Regions from separate parts of the Homo sapiens genome. Here region 2 is linked to region 1. Evidence: promoter capture Hi-C in 16 types of primary human blood cells and fetal thymus (Javierre and others, 2016). All regions are on one chromosome and are shown on one strand. The core of a region is centred on a gene start or on the middle of the fragment in contact, and the rest is flanking DNA. Distances in the headings are between cores, read along the strand shown.

Region 1 (6,071 bases), core at 2,400-4,899:
GGCTAGTGTGACTGAGAATTTTTTATTTTATTGAATATTTTAATTTTTTTTTTTTTTTTTGAGATGGAGTCTCACTCTGTCGCCCAGGTCAGAGTGCAGTGTCATGATCTCGGCTCACTGCAACCTCCGCCTCCCGGGGTCAAGTGATTCTCCTGCCTCAACATCCCGAGTAGCTGGGATTACAGGTGTGTGCCACCATGCCCGGCAAATTTTTGTATTTTTAGTAGAGACAGGGTTTCACTGTGTTAGCCAGGACGATCTTGATCTTCTGACCTCATGATCCACCCACCTCCGCCTCCCAAAGTGCTGGGATTACAGGCATGAGCCACTGCGCCCAGCCTCACATTATATTTCTATTGGAACACAGAATGGTCTAGAGAATTGGGATTTGACAAACCCAGCTGTGACAAGTCACCAAAATTTGGGGGCCATACCCAGGGTGCCGTTCCTGTCACGATACCCATAGGTCCATGTGGAGGCTGCAGGGATACAAAGCTCGTGAAATATCCCAGGATGGCATGGGCACTGGAGTCAGCTGCCCCAAGTTCAAATCTGAAATCAGTCTTTTTGTTTTTTTTTTTTTTTTGAGATGCAGTTTCACTCTTGTTGCCCAAGCTGGAATGCAGTGGCGCAATTGGCTCACTGCAACCTCCGCCTCCTGGGTTCAAGCGATTCTCCTGTCTCAGCCTCCCGAGTAGCTGGGATTACAGGTACATGCCATCACGCCCGGCTAAATTTTTGTATTCTTAGCAGAAACCGGGTTTCACCACCTTAGCCAGGCTGGTCTCCATCTCCTGACTTCAGGTGATCCGCCTGCCTCAGCCTCCCAAAGTGTTGGGATTACAGGCGTGAGCCACCGCGCCCAGCCTGAAATCAGTCTTATACGACCAGCTGGGTGGTCTTGGGTAGGTCCCTTACCTTAACTCTTCTTGTCTGCAGAATGGAGGTGACTTACTGTTTTTCTCTGTCTCCCTTTCACATCTTTGCACTCTTCACCCCTTCTCTTCCCTCAGCTTTTAGTTTAAACATCACCTTTCTGATAAGCCCTGCTGAAAATGGCCACCCTCAGTCATGACGGAGAACAAGTCTTTCCTATTTTATTCAAGAAAATGCATGATGCAATCTATTTTAAATGATCATGGTTTTAATTTTATTTTCCTGATAATGGTCTATCTCTCCACTGATTTATAAGATTTGTAAGAGCAGGGGTGGATCATTCTGGTCACTGCTGAGTCCCCAGCATTTAGAACAGGGGCTGACACAGCACAAAACAACGTTAGTTGGGAATGTACAAGCAAACCCAGCACACCTTCAGAGGGGTGCTCAGGAAACAGCCCTCCCACCTTTCTTCACCCCTCACAGCTGTGGGATCTTCCTAACCATTTCGGTGTCCCAGGATAGAGGATGAGTTTATTCACCCCTCCCCAGCAGGGGAGTTGCCAGGATTAAATGAGATCCCAGAATGCCCTGGTATACCCTGAAGGCTCTGGGACACAGGTGAGCTGGTCCCCAGGGATTTGGAAACAGGAAAACAAATATGACTCCACCCTGCCTCCCATCCAGCCTCTGCCTAGAGGAGTTATTTTATTTTATTTTACTTTTTTTTTTTTTTTGAGACGGAGTCTTGCTCTGTCGCCCAGGCTGGAGTGCAATGGCGCAATCTCAGCTCATTGCAACTCCTGCCTCCTGGGTTCAAGCGATTCTCCTGCCTCAGCCTCCCGAGTAGCTGGGACTACAGGTGTGTTTTTTGTATTTTTAGTAATTTTTTGTACTTTTAGTAGAAACGGGTTTCACCGTGTTAGCCAGGATGGTCTTGATCTCCCGACCTCGTGATCCACCTGCCTCAGCCTCCCAAAGTGCTGGGATTACAGGCATAAGCCACCACGCCCAGCCTCTAGAGGAGTTATTTTACTTACTTACTTATTTATTTATTACACAGGATCTCACTCTGTCACCCAACCTGGAGTGCAGTGGCACAATCACGTTTCACTGTAACCTGAACTCCTGGGCTCAAGTGATCCTCCTACCTCAGCTTCCTAAGTAGCTGGGACCACAAGCTCGTACCACCATGCCCGCTATCTTTTTCTCTTTGTAAAGACAGGGTCTTACTATGTCATCCAGGCTGTTCTCAAACTCCTGGCCTCAAGCAATCCTCCCGTCTTGGCCTCCCAAAGTGCTAGGATTACAGACATGAGCCAGCTCACCCAGCTGAGGAGTTATTTTTTGACACTGGTGAATTCAGATCAAAAGGGATTTCTAAGAAAGGTGCTGGACCCAGGCCGGGCGCGGTGGCTCATGCCTGTAATCTCAGCACTTTGGGAGGCCGAGGCAGGTGGATTATCTGAGGTCAGGAGTTCGAGACCAGCCTGACCAACATGGAGAAACCCTGTCTCTACTAAAAATACAAAATTAGCCAGGCATAGTAGCGCATGCCTGTAATCCCAGCTACTTGGGAGGCTGAGGCAGGAGAATCGCTTGAACCCGGGAGGTGGAGGTTGCAGTGAGCCGAGATCGTGCCATCGCACTCAATCCTGGGCAACGAGTGAAACTCTGCCTCAAAAAAAGAAAAAAAAAGAAAGGTGCTGGACGCCTAGGACGCAGAGGGGTGTTTCACCCCAAATCAAGTAGCACCAAGCCCTCCCAGGCCTTGGGTGCAAGCATATTAAAGGCCTCTTTCCCTCTCTGTCTCCATTGTTTACACTCCACTGAGCATCCGCAATGTGCCACACACTGTTCTAAGCGTCTTACACATATTAAATTATTTAATCCTCACAACAACTTTATGAAGTGAGCGCAATTATGAGCCCATTTTATGGAGCAGGAAGTTGAGGCAGGGTTTTAGGTAGCTTTTCTGGGGTAGCACTGTGGGTTGGAGCGGAGGTGGAGTGCACTCTTAGGCCAGCTGGCTCTAGGGGCTCTTCACCACTAGGCCGCACTGCCTCTAGCAAAGGGACGCGGGGAAGCTCAGCAGACCTTAGGCCTCCCAAGGGCGCCACGGTGGTTCCTTTGAGCCCAGAGTCAGCTCTTAAGTCCATAGGCCTTCCTGAAGCTTCTGAACCACTTGCCCATAGCTGGGCCTCAGGCTGGCTCTCAGTAGAATGTGGAGAATGGAGATTCCCGCATGTCCACTTCTCCTAAAGGTTTTATAAGGCAGTGCTGGGAATGTGCTTTATAAAAAAGGGGAAGCACCCCGACAACAGTCACTGTTTGCTCTTTTAAGCACCATCCTGAGAAGGAGGAATGTTCTTCCCATTTCATAGGTGGGGAAACCGAGGCTCAGAAGAGCAAATTTTTGGCCGGGCGCGGTGGCTCACGCCTGTAATCCCAGCACTTTGGGAGGCCGAGGCGGGTGGATCACGAGGTCAGGAGATCGAGACCATCCTGGCTAACAAGGTGAAACCCCGTCTCTACTAAAAATACAAAAAATTAGCCGGGCGTGGTGCGGGCGCCTGTAGTCCCAGCTACTCGGGAGGCTGAGGCAGGAGAATGGCGTGAACCCGGGAGGCGGAGCTTGCAGTGAGCCGAGATCGCGCCACCGCCCTCCAGCCTGGGCGACAGAGCAAGACTCTGTCTCAAAAAAAAAAAAAAAAAGAGCAAATTTTTTTTCCAAGGTGATAGGGAGAGTCCGTGGCTGATGTCTGCACTGACCAGACGCCCCTAGGGGGCCAGCGAGGGCGGGTCCCAGGTGCAGCGGATGCAGAGGAGAGAGGCCCGGGCGCGGCGCGGGGGATGGTGCGATCCCGGGCCCGAGGGCATCAGACGGCGGCTGATTAGCTCCGGTTTGCATCACCCGGACCGGGGGATTAGCTCCGGTTTGCATCACCCGGACCGGGGGATTAGCTCCGGTTTGCATCACCCGGACCGGGGGCCGGGCGCGCACGAGACTCGCAGCGGAAGTGGAGGCGGCTCCGCGCGCGTCCGCTGCTAGGACCCGGGCAGGGCTGGAGCTGGGCTGGGATCCCGAGCTCGGCAGCAGCGCAGCGGGCCGGCCCACCTGCTGGTGCCCTGGAGGCTCTGAGCCCCGGCGGCGCCCGGGCCCACGCGGAACGACGGGGCGAGGTACTCGGCGGGGTGCGGCCTGCGGACTCGCCCGGAGGCCGGGGGGCGGGAGGGGGCGGCCGGGGAAGGGGGCGCCGGAAGCCTCTGGGCGTCTGCGTGTTGCCGCGTGTTACACGCACGCACGCCCCTTACACACCTTTTCACAGACCCCGCCGTCGGGGCGCGGCCAGGTCAGATCCCTTTTGATCCGGGCCTGGGCTGAGTGCTCCCCCCGGGCTTCAGGTGACGCGGCCCCGCGGAGCGTGGGGTCGCCCGAGTTGGGCTGGGGAAGCCAGGGACGGAGGTGTCCGGCCGTCACCCCTAGAGGAGGGCGTGCGGGGGTCTGTTTTGCGTGAGTGCGGGATAGGGGAGTCGTGTGGTGCGGTGAGGGGCTTGTGGGGGGCACTGGAGGACTCTGGGGGTGGCGGGGGATCCGAGGGGGTCCTCGTGAACCCGCAGGGGAGAGTCCTGGGTGAGGGTGGGTCCCGAGCACCTGTGTCTCAGGAGATGGTGAGAGCTGTCTGGAGGGCTGGGCACTTGGTGGCAGGGGTTGGCGGTGCAGGGGACACCGCCGGGACAGGGCTGGGGTGCCCTGGAGCGGGGGAGCCGAGGGAGTGGGAGCGGGGGCGCAGCGCGCGATCTCTGGCCCGGCAGGGCCGCTGGTTCTCCCCAGTGCGCGGCTCCGGGTTTGCAGGTGGACGGTGCGCGCGTGTCTGCGGTGTGTGCTGTGCCTGCAGACCGGGGAGGGCGGGGGACGACAGCCACCTCCTTCCCTCTGCCTCACCCCCCTCCTGTCCCAGGGCCGCGCTTCAATTTCCGCTGAAACTTCTGACTCGGACACCCGCCGCCTTTCGCTTGGGCTCCCACGGGAGGGGCCTGGCTGCGGGGGGCGGGGCGGGGTGGGGGTGCGGCCTTGCTCGGGTAGACCATGGGTGTGACAGCTGGGAGGGCTGTGTGTGTGTGTGTGTGTGTGTGTGTGCGTGCGCGCGCGCGCTTGCGCTTGATGTAACCCGCCCTCATTTCCCTGGGTCCCGAGTGTGGCAGGGAACAGCAAGAGGTAGATATTAGGGGCTGCTTTCATTCCACATCACAGATTCTATTCTGCAGTGTGGTCTGCAAAATGCCTTGCCCAAGATGTATAGACTCAGTTACCGCATCTGTCCCCATCTGGGTGGAGCTTATCCCAGGCCCCAACAGGCTCTGAGGGATGGCCGGGGCCAAGGCAGCCTGGACTACTGATGTGGCACAGGCCAGAGGGACTCCAGGCAGTCTCCTGCTGCACAGGGCACAAAGCATGTGCACAGCCAGGTATCATCCTGCGTGACTCAGAACAGCCTTGAGATGTAAGGAGTGTCATCCCAGCCTCGAACCTGGGGAGCTTTCTAAGACTCCCAAGGATGGTACTTATGCATCTTGCTGTGAAGAATAACAGGATGAGTGCTAATAATGACCATTTCCTGACACCTACCTGGCAACAGGTCCATAAGCTCTACATGCTTCATTTGTGTTTTCATTTCATCATCACGAAAAACCTGTAAGCTTTGCATCCTGTTCCCACTTTACAGGAACTGAGGCTCAGAAAGCTTGAGGAACTTGACCAGGGGTACCCCCCAGCTAGAAAGGGTTTGAGACAGGATTAGAACCCAGGAATATCTGACTACAGCCACTCCTTACTGCATTCTTACCAAGCCAAAGTCATGACCTTTCACTCATGTGGGGAGGCCTTCCCTTCCAAGGCAGCTCTTCCATTTGGGAGCAGCGTACTTGGAGAGGTGGGCCTCTGTCTGGTAACTGACTCATGTTGCCTTGTTAATCCTGCCTTGAACTGTTGGGAAGGTCTTTAACCAGGCTGAGGTCTCTCGCACCAATGCCCATACCTGGGCATGCACCTCCTTGGAATGGAGTTTAAGTGGGTGGGCAGATGGGTTCTAGAGAGAACCCGTCTGCCCTGACCATGCCCTACTGCCCTCTCCTTCAGCCACCACACACACAGTCACACAGCTGCGTGAATGGTGGCTTTCCTTTCACTTAAC
Region 2 (6,204 bases), core at 1,047-3,546, 110 kb after region 1:
ATAAATACTAAATAGTTTAATAGTTATTTTAAAAATAATTAAATATTTAAAAATAAATATAAACAGCTTTTTAAAAGGATTGTTCAGGTTGCTATGGAGAGATTATAGATTCACAGGAAATTGCCAAAGTAGTAGAGATTCTCTGCACCCTTTACCCAGTTTCCCCTAATAGTAACATCTTACATAACTACAGTACAATATCAAAATCAAGAAACTGACACTGGCACAATTCAGAAAGATCTTATTCAGGTTTCACCAGTTTTACATGCACGCATGTGTTTGTGTGTGTGTTTCTATGCAATTTCATCACATATGTAAGTTGATATAATCTCCTCAACAAGATATAGAACTGTTCCATCACCACACACATGTCCTGTGTGTTAGCCCAACCCCTGGCAACCCCTCTGCTCTTTATCTCTATCATTTTGAGAATGCTACAAAAATGGAGTCATTGGCATATAACTTTTTTTGAGACTGCCTTTTTTCACTAAGCATGAGATCCATCCAAGTTGTTGCATGTGTCATACTTCTTTCCTTTTTATTGCTGAGAAATACTACTTCATAATAATATTATATGGTATGGATATGCCAGTTTGTTTAACCATTCCCTCATTGAAGGGCACTTTTCCCCATTTTTTTTTTTTTTTTTTTTTGAGACGCAGTCTCGCTCTGTCACCCAGGCTGGAGCACAGTGGCACGATCTCGGCTCACTGCAACCTCCGCCTCCGGGGTTCAAGCAATTCTCCTGCCTCAGCCTCCTGAGTAGCTGGGATTACAGGTGCATGCCACCAGGCCCGGCTAATTTTTGTATTTTTTTAGTAGAGACAGGGTTTCACCATGTTGGCCAGGCTGGTCTTGAACTCCTGAACTCGTCATCTGCCTGCCTTGGCCTCCCAAAATGATTACAGGTGTGAGCCACTGCACCCAGCTTTTCCCCCCAATTTTAAGCTATTACAAATATAGTTGCATTCATATATAGGCTTTTGTGTGGACCTAAGATTTTGTTGCTCTGAGATAAATGCCACTGCAGGATTGTATGGTAAGCATATGTTTAGCTTTTCAAGAAACCAACCAACTATAAAACAATAGTTAAGCATTTTCCAAAATGCCAAACTTTGCATTCCTACCAGCAATGTATGAGAGATCAAGTTTCTTCACATTTTTGCCAGCACTTGGTACCATCACTATTTTTTATTTTAGCTGTTCTAATAAATGTGTAGTTAACTTTTAAATTTCAAGTGAGAACATGCTAAAGCTTAGAATATGCAAAAGCTCTCTATCTTCAGAGAAAAGGCCTAACAATGACCAATAAGGTTTTACATGATTTGGTTTTACCTCTTTGATTTCATTTCCTCCTTCTTTCCCCGCATTCATTCTGTCCCAGCTTTATCCTTGCTGCTGCTCTTCCAACATGCCAAACATATCCTTACCTGAAGGGCTTTTGTACTTGCTATTTACTCTGCCTTGGGACATGTTTCTTCATAAGACTGCATGGCTGGGTCCCTCCCAGTGCTCTCTAAAATGTCACCTTTCCAATGAAACCTTCCCTTATAACTGGTTTAAAACTGCAAATACCCTCTTGCCATTCCCTATTCGTTTTTTCTTCTACATCAAAATAACTTTCTATCCCACCAGCCTCCCTAAATGTAGCTCCTAAAAGACAAGCATTTATTGTATGTTGAGTTCACTTACATATCCCCAGCCCTAGGGTGGTGCCTCTGACATGGTGTGTGTCTAAAAGTAATTCAGTTGCATAAATAAATCACCTGCCTCCCCAGAGACCACAACAGGCAAGTCATCACAGCTTGTCACCTTAAAAAACTGAAATGCTAAAGCATGTGGCCATTACAGCTCTCATGTAAAAGCATTTGCAGACAACAGGGCCCTTATGACATCCAATAAACAGAAACAGCATTTTCTGTATATCTCGTCCACTTAACTGTGCACATTTAATTCTCACGAATACCTAGTCGCCTGCAGGGCTATTATTACCCACACTGTACACGTAAGAAAAAGAAGGCAAATGGAGAGAAAGTAGTTTCTCAGGAAACCAGTTACTCAATAAATAAGGCGAGAAGCCACGTTTCCGGGCTTAGAAGATGAACATTTTGCCCACTTTACTCATGTTTCCTTCTTGGGAATATTCTTAGGAATATAAATAATGGTTCAAACATGTTGACTTGTAAATTCGTACATTCATTCACCAAATATTTCTCAACTGCCGAATAGGTACTAGGGCCTGTGACAACACAAGGGATAAAGTGTTGAAGATGGGCAATTAGCTACATCATGTAGATAAATAACACTTGTCAGCCTATCACTTTACCTTTCTGTGCTCATGATCAATCATGACATTATGGGGCTTGACATCTCTGTGCATAATTCCCATGCTGTGACAATAATCCAGGGCCTGTGGGATGAACGGGTCAGAAAGGAGTTAGCCTGAATAATACGTAAGAGTCCTTTACTTTTCCCTCCATGTAAATTTTCCTTTTAGCCTCACAATACCCCTGGGATTCAAGCTGAGGACACAGTCACTTCCACAGCAATGCTTCAGAGACTTGTTCATGATCTCACAGTCAAGCAAACTCAGCTCTCTGAGCTTAGAGATCTTTTTCTGACACAGTTGTTTCAACATGTTTTCTGTCCTAAAAGACCCAAAGTATACCCAAATTGCACCACTTCAAATTTTTCTGTCTTGTCCAGATCCTAGATTATTTCCACAGACCCCTCAAAGAAAGAAAACAGATCTTTACTACAAACCTCTTATTCTAAGAACAGTAATTCTTTAGCCATTAAGAGTCTGTAACAGAGGTTGGCAGACCACAGGCCAAATTTGGCCTGATGTCTGCTTTTGTAAATAATGTTTTATTGCAACATAGCCATGCCTATTTGTTTGCATATTGTTTATGGTTGCTCTTGTGCAACAACAGCAGACTTGAATAGTGTGACAAACACTACATGGCCCACAAAGCCTAAAATATTTACTATTTGGCCCTTTAAAGAAGTTTGCCAATGCCTGATTTAGGTCATCAAATCCAATCTGAAATGTTTCCAACCTCAAACTAAAGGGAACTGAGTAGTATAATCTTTGGGGTTTGTTAATCCCAGCCTTTCAGTCAGCCGACGTTGTTGGCCAAATTCTTGTCCTTCCTGAAGGGCAACTTGGGTTCCTACAGTTCCCAGGGCTGGGCAATCATATCTGTAACTTTCTAAAGCCTTGCTTGCCACAAACTGCATGAGCCAATGGAAAGATCAAGTATCTCTGCTGGCACAATCTCCTCAGGGGATTTCTAAGGCTCCAACAGCAGGCTTTATGTCAACTCTTGTTTAGTAAGAAAGCTTAGCCAACTTTTAGCAATTCTCTCTTCTAGGAAGCTGATCTTGTGGCTACTGGGAACAAGATATTTGGTGACCCCACTTTAGAAATGTAAGTAAATTTTCAATTAGCATCTATAAGCAGAAATTTACACAATCCTTAGGACAATTACCCTTTGAGAACTGAGTTAAAGTTTACTGTTTTATTTGCTGACTCTTAAGTGAGATAAAGTATACCAGAAGCTAGCACGTCAGGTGTTTTCACGAGTTTTGAAAATTTAATATTAACTTACATAGGGGCCACAGAAATTACAAATATTTGTTAAGGGGTCAGTCCCAGCTATCTTACAAATACCCTTTTTCAAATTGTTCTAAATTATACTCCCACTAGACCCCATTCCATAACCCTTAGCACAAGGGTTCTGATACTATTATTATTAATTTTTATTTATTTATGTATTTAGAGACAGGGTCTTACTCTGTGCTACTGCACTCCAGCCTGTGCAACAATCATAGCTCACTGCTGCCTCAAATTCCTGAGATCCTCCTGTCACAGCCTCCCAAGTAGCTGGAATTACAAGCATAAGCCACCATACCCAGCTAATTTTTAAATTTTTTGTAGAGACAGGGTCTCACTATGTTGCTCAGGCTGGTCTTGATCTCCTGGCCTCAAGCAATCCTCCTGCCTTGGCCTCCCAAGTAGCTGGGACTTACAGGTGCACACCACCATGCCCAGGTAATTAAACAATTTTTTTTTGTAGAGATGGGGATCTCACTATGTCACCCAGGCTGGTCTTTTGATCTCCTGGCCTCAAGCAATCCTCCTGCCTCAGCCTTCCAAAGTGCTGGGATTACAGGTATGATACTATTAACTTATTAAAAACTTATATAGAGGTCCCTTCTTTCAACATACTTTACAAAGTTAATCTGCTGGCTTTTCTACCATCAATTGACTATTTAACAAAAAGAAGACCAATTTAAAAAATATTTAGTATTCAAGGTTCACTTACCTTCAGAATCTCATACATGTAAAATCGAATATCATAGTCTGTTAACGTCTGGTACAATTGCTGTTAAAGACAAATGTTTGAGCCATGAAATAATGCTGACAGAAAGGCATTTTTCACCCTCACTCACAGTAATTCAAACCAAGACTTGGCTCATTTACCGTTGTTCCAAGATCTGTCCATTCACTGCCCTCTATTTCTCCAACATTACATTAACTTTAAAGAGATACTTTGGGTCTTCAACTCTTAAAAATGAAGAATTACTTAAACATATATTGCGGAAGCTATAATCCACTGTCAGAAACATACTGATCTAGATACGTTAATATGCACTGACACCCACCTATAATTTAGTTTGCTTTTCATGTATCTTCAGACCTTCTCAAAAGAGGCATTTTGGCAAATATACTGCCTCCTTAGTAGGGAACTAACTCATCTTTGCCTTACATAGTTGGCCCTGCAGATCACCAGTGGGTATGCAGATGGCATGATACCAAACCTGTTGAGTCAATTTAACAAAACTATTCTTGTTCCAATTGGAAAGTAAACTCTGAACAACTGTTATGTATCCTTTCCAGTTTCCAAAGAGTTGCAGAATGTTTTTTACATGGACATATCTTTTTTTTTTTTTTTTTTTTTTGAGACAGGGTCCTCACTCTGCTGCCCAGGCTGGAGTGCCGTGCTGCAATCATAACTCACTGCAACCTCAAACTCCTGGGCTCAAGCGATCCTCCTACCTCAGCTTCCCCAGTAGCTAGGACTACAGGCGAAAGCCACCATGCCCAGCCACAGGTACGTCTCTTTAATGGTTAGCAACGTCTTCTGACAAAGTTTTTCTTGAAATTATCATTCTGACTCTAAAGCAGTTCCTCTTCCTTTCTCCCTATCTCTGCAACAGAATTCACTAATTTATTAATATATAACATTCTGGATACTGGACTGGTGGAAAGGCAAATCGAAGATTTTTACTTTTACTCCAAAAGAGTAGCTATATTCTTCTGTAAAATTGGAACTGTGTGAAATAAGTAGGCCACTGGATAGACTGGAATTCTGAGATATCTCTTATAGAGGTTTGTGTTATGGCAGAATTTGACATTATCCTTCCTCGATCCCTGCCTTTTAAGATCTATAGCCCACAGTTTATGAGGAATCCTAAGAAATAAGCAGTCCCTACTTTTATACATACAATATATTTCTTCCTGAACACTATTGTTTAAAGCGAATTGCCATATGGCCAGATCCTAAGTGAACGTGTGTTACTGCCTTCATTAGGTTGGACATCAGCAGAAACTGTCAACTAAGTAGTGAGAAGTCAATGTGTTGGTCATTAAAAAGAACATTAAACAAATGGGCAAAATATCAAGATGCAGAAAGTGGGCACTGCTTATATAGGAGTTCTTCTATCTTAAAATTTGCACTGTAAGGATGAAAAGCTTTTTAAAAACAAATGCGAAGCAAGCTCTTCTAACAGCATCATCCCCAAAGGCTATGTGGTCTAAAAACCCACTAGCCCGAAACAGTTGGTTATATATTATACCTTGAAGTCTGTGTTGTTTACGTGTTCAAAAACCAAGGCGGGGGTTCGTGACTAGGGGAAAAGAACAAAAACAAAAACACACATTAGCAATAGCCCTGACAGCTTTAATGGGGACAATGTTTGCGGATGCTGCGTGGTGAAATTTGGCAGTCCTCGCCTCAGTAGTAAGAAACCCTCTATTGCTACAAGCCCTCCCCGCTCTGATCATCACCGCACTTAGGTCATTTTTGGGATGGATTTCAAACAGAAGACATGGAGCTGAAGTCTCACCAGGCTCTAGGCAGCCCGACAATGCGCCCATCGCCCATCGGCATCGGACCTGAGTTTGCAAAATGGATTAAC

Evidence for each region. Contacts are between HindIII fragments. The CHiCAGO score rates a contact against its expected background, and 5 or more counts as called.
Region 2: a contact is called between a fragment that was not itself captured here and the fragment with the promoter of TRIB3 in region 1, in 7 of 17 cell types (activated CD4 T cells, naive B cells, erythroblasts and 4 more). The highest score is 7.7, in activated CD4 T cells.

The regions. Positions count from the first base shown.
Region 1 is chr20:377,111-383,181 of GRCh38, forward strand. TRIB3 (tribbles pseudokinase 3) reads left to right here and starts at 3,650. Exons shown (of 4, transcript NM_021158.5): 1 at 3,650-4,059. RefSeq lists silencers at 3,934-4,093, 4,114-4,223, 4,494-5,083 and an enhancer at 4,769-5,767. The HindIII fragment of the contact is 2,528 bases long and covers 3,048-5,575 here.
Region 2 is chr20:493,393-499,596 of GRCh38, forward strand. It overlaps CSNK2A1 (casein kinase 2 alpha 1), which reads right to left. Exons shown (of 14, transcript NM_177559.3): 6 at 5,863-5,913; 7 at 4,329-4,388; 8 at 2,327-2,410. Among named protein-coding and RNA genes, the nearest start is that of TBC1D20, 34 kb to the left of the region's middle. The HindIII fragment of the contact is 2,087 bases long and covers 1,254-3,340 here.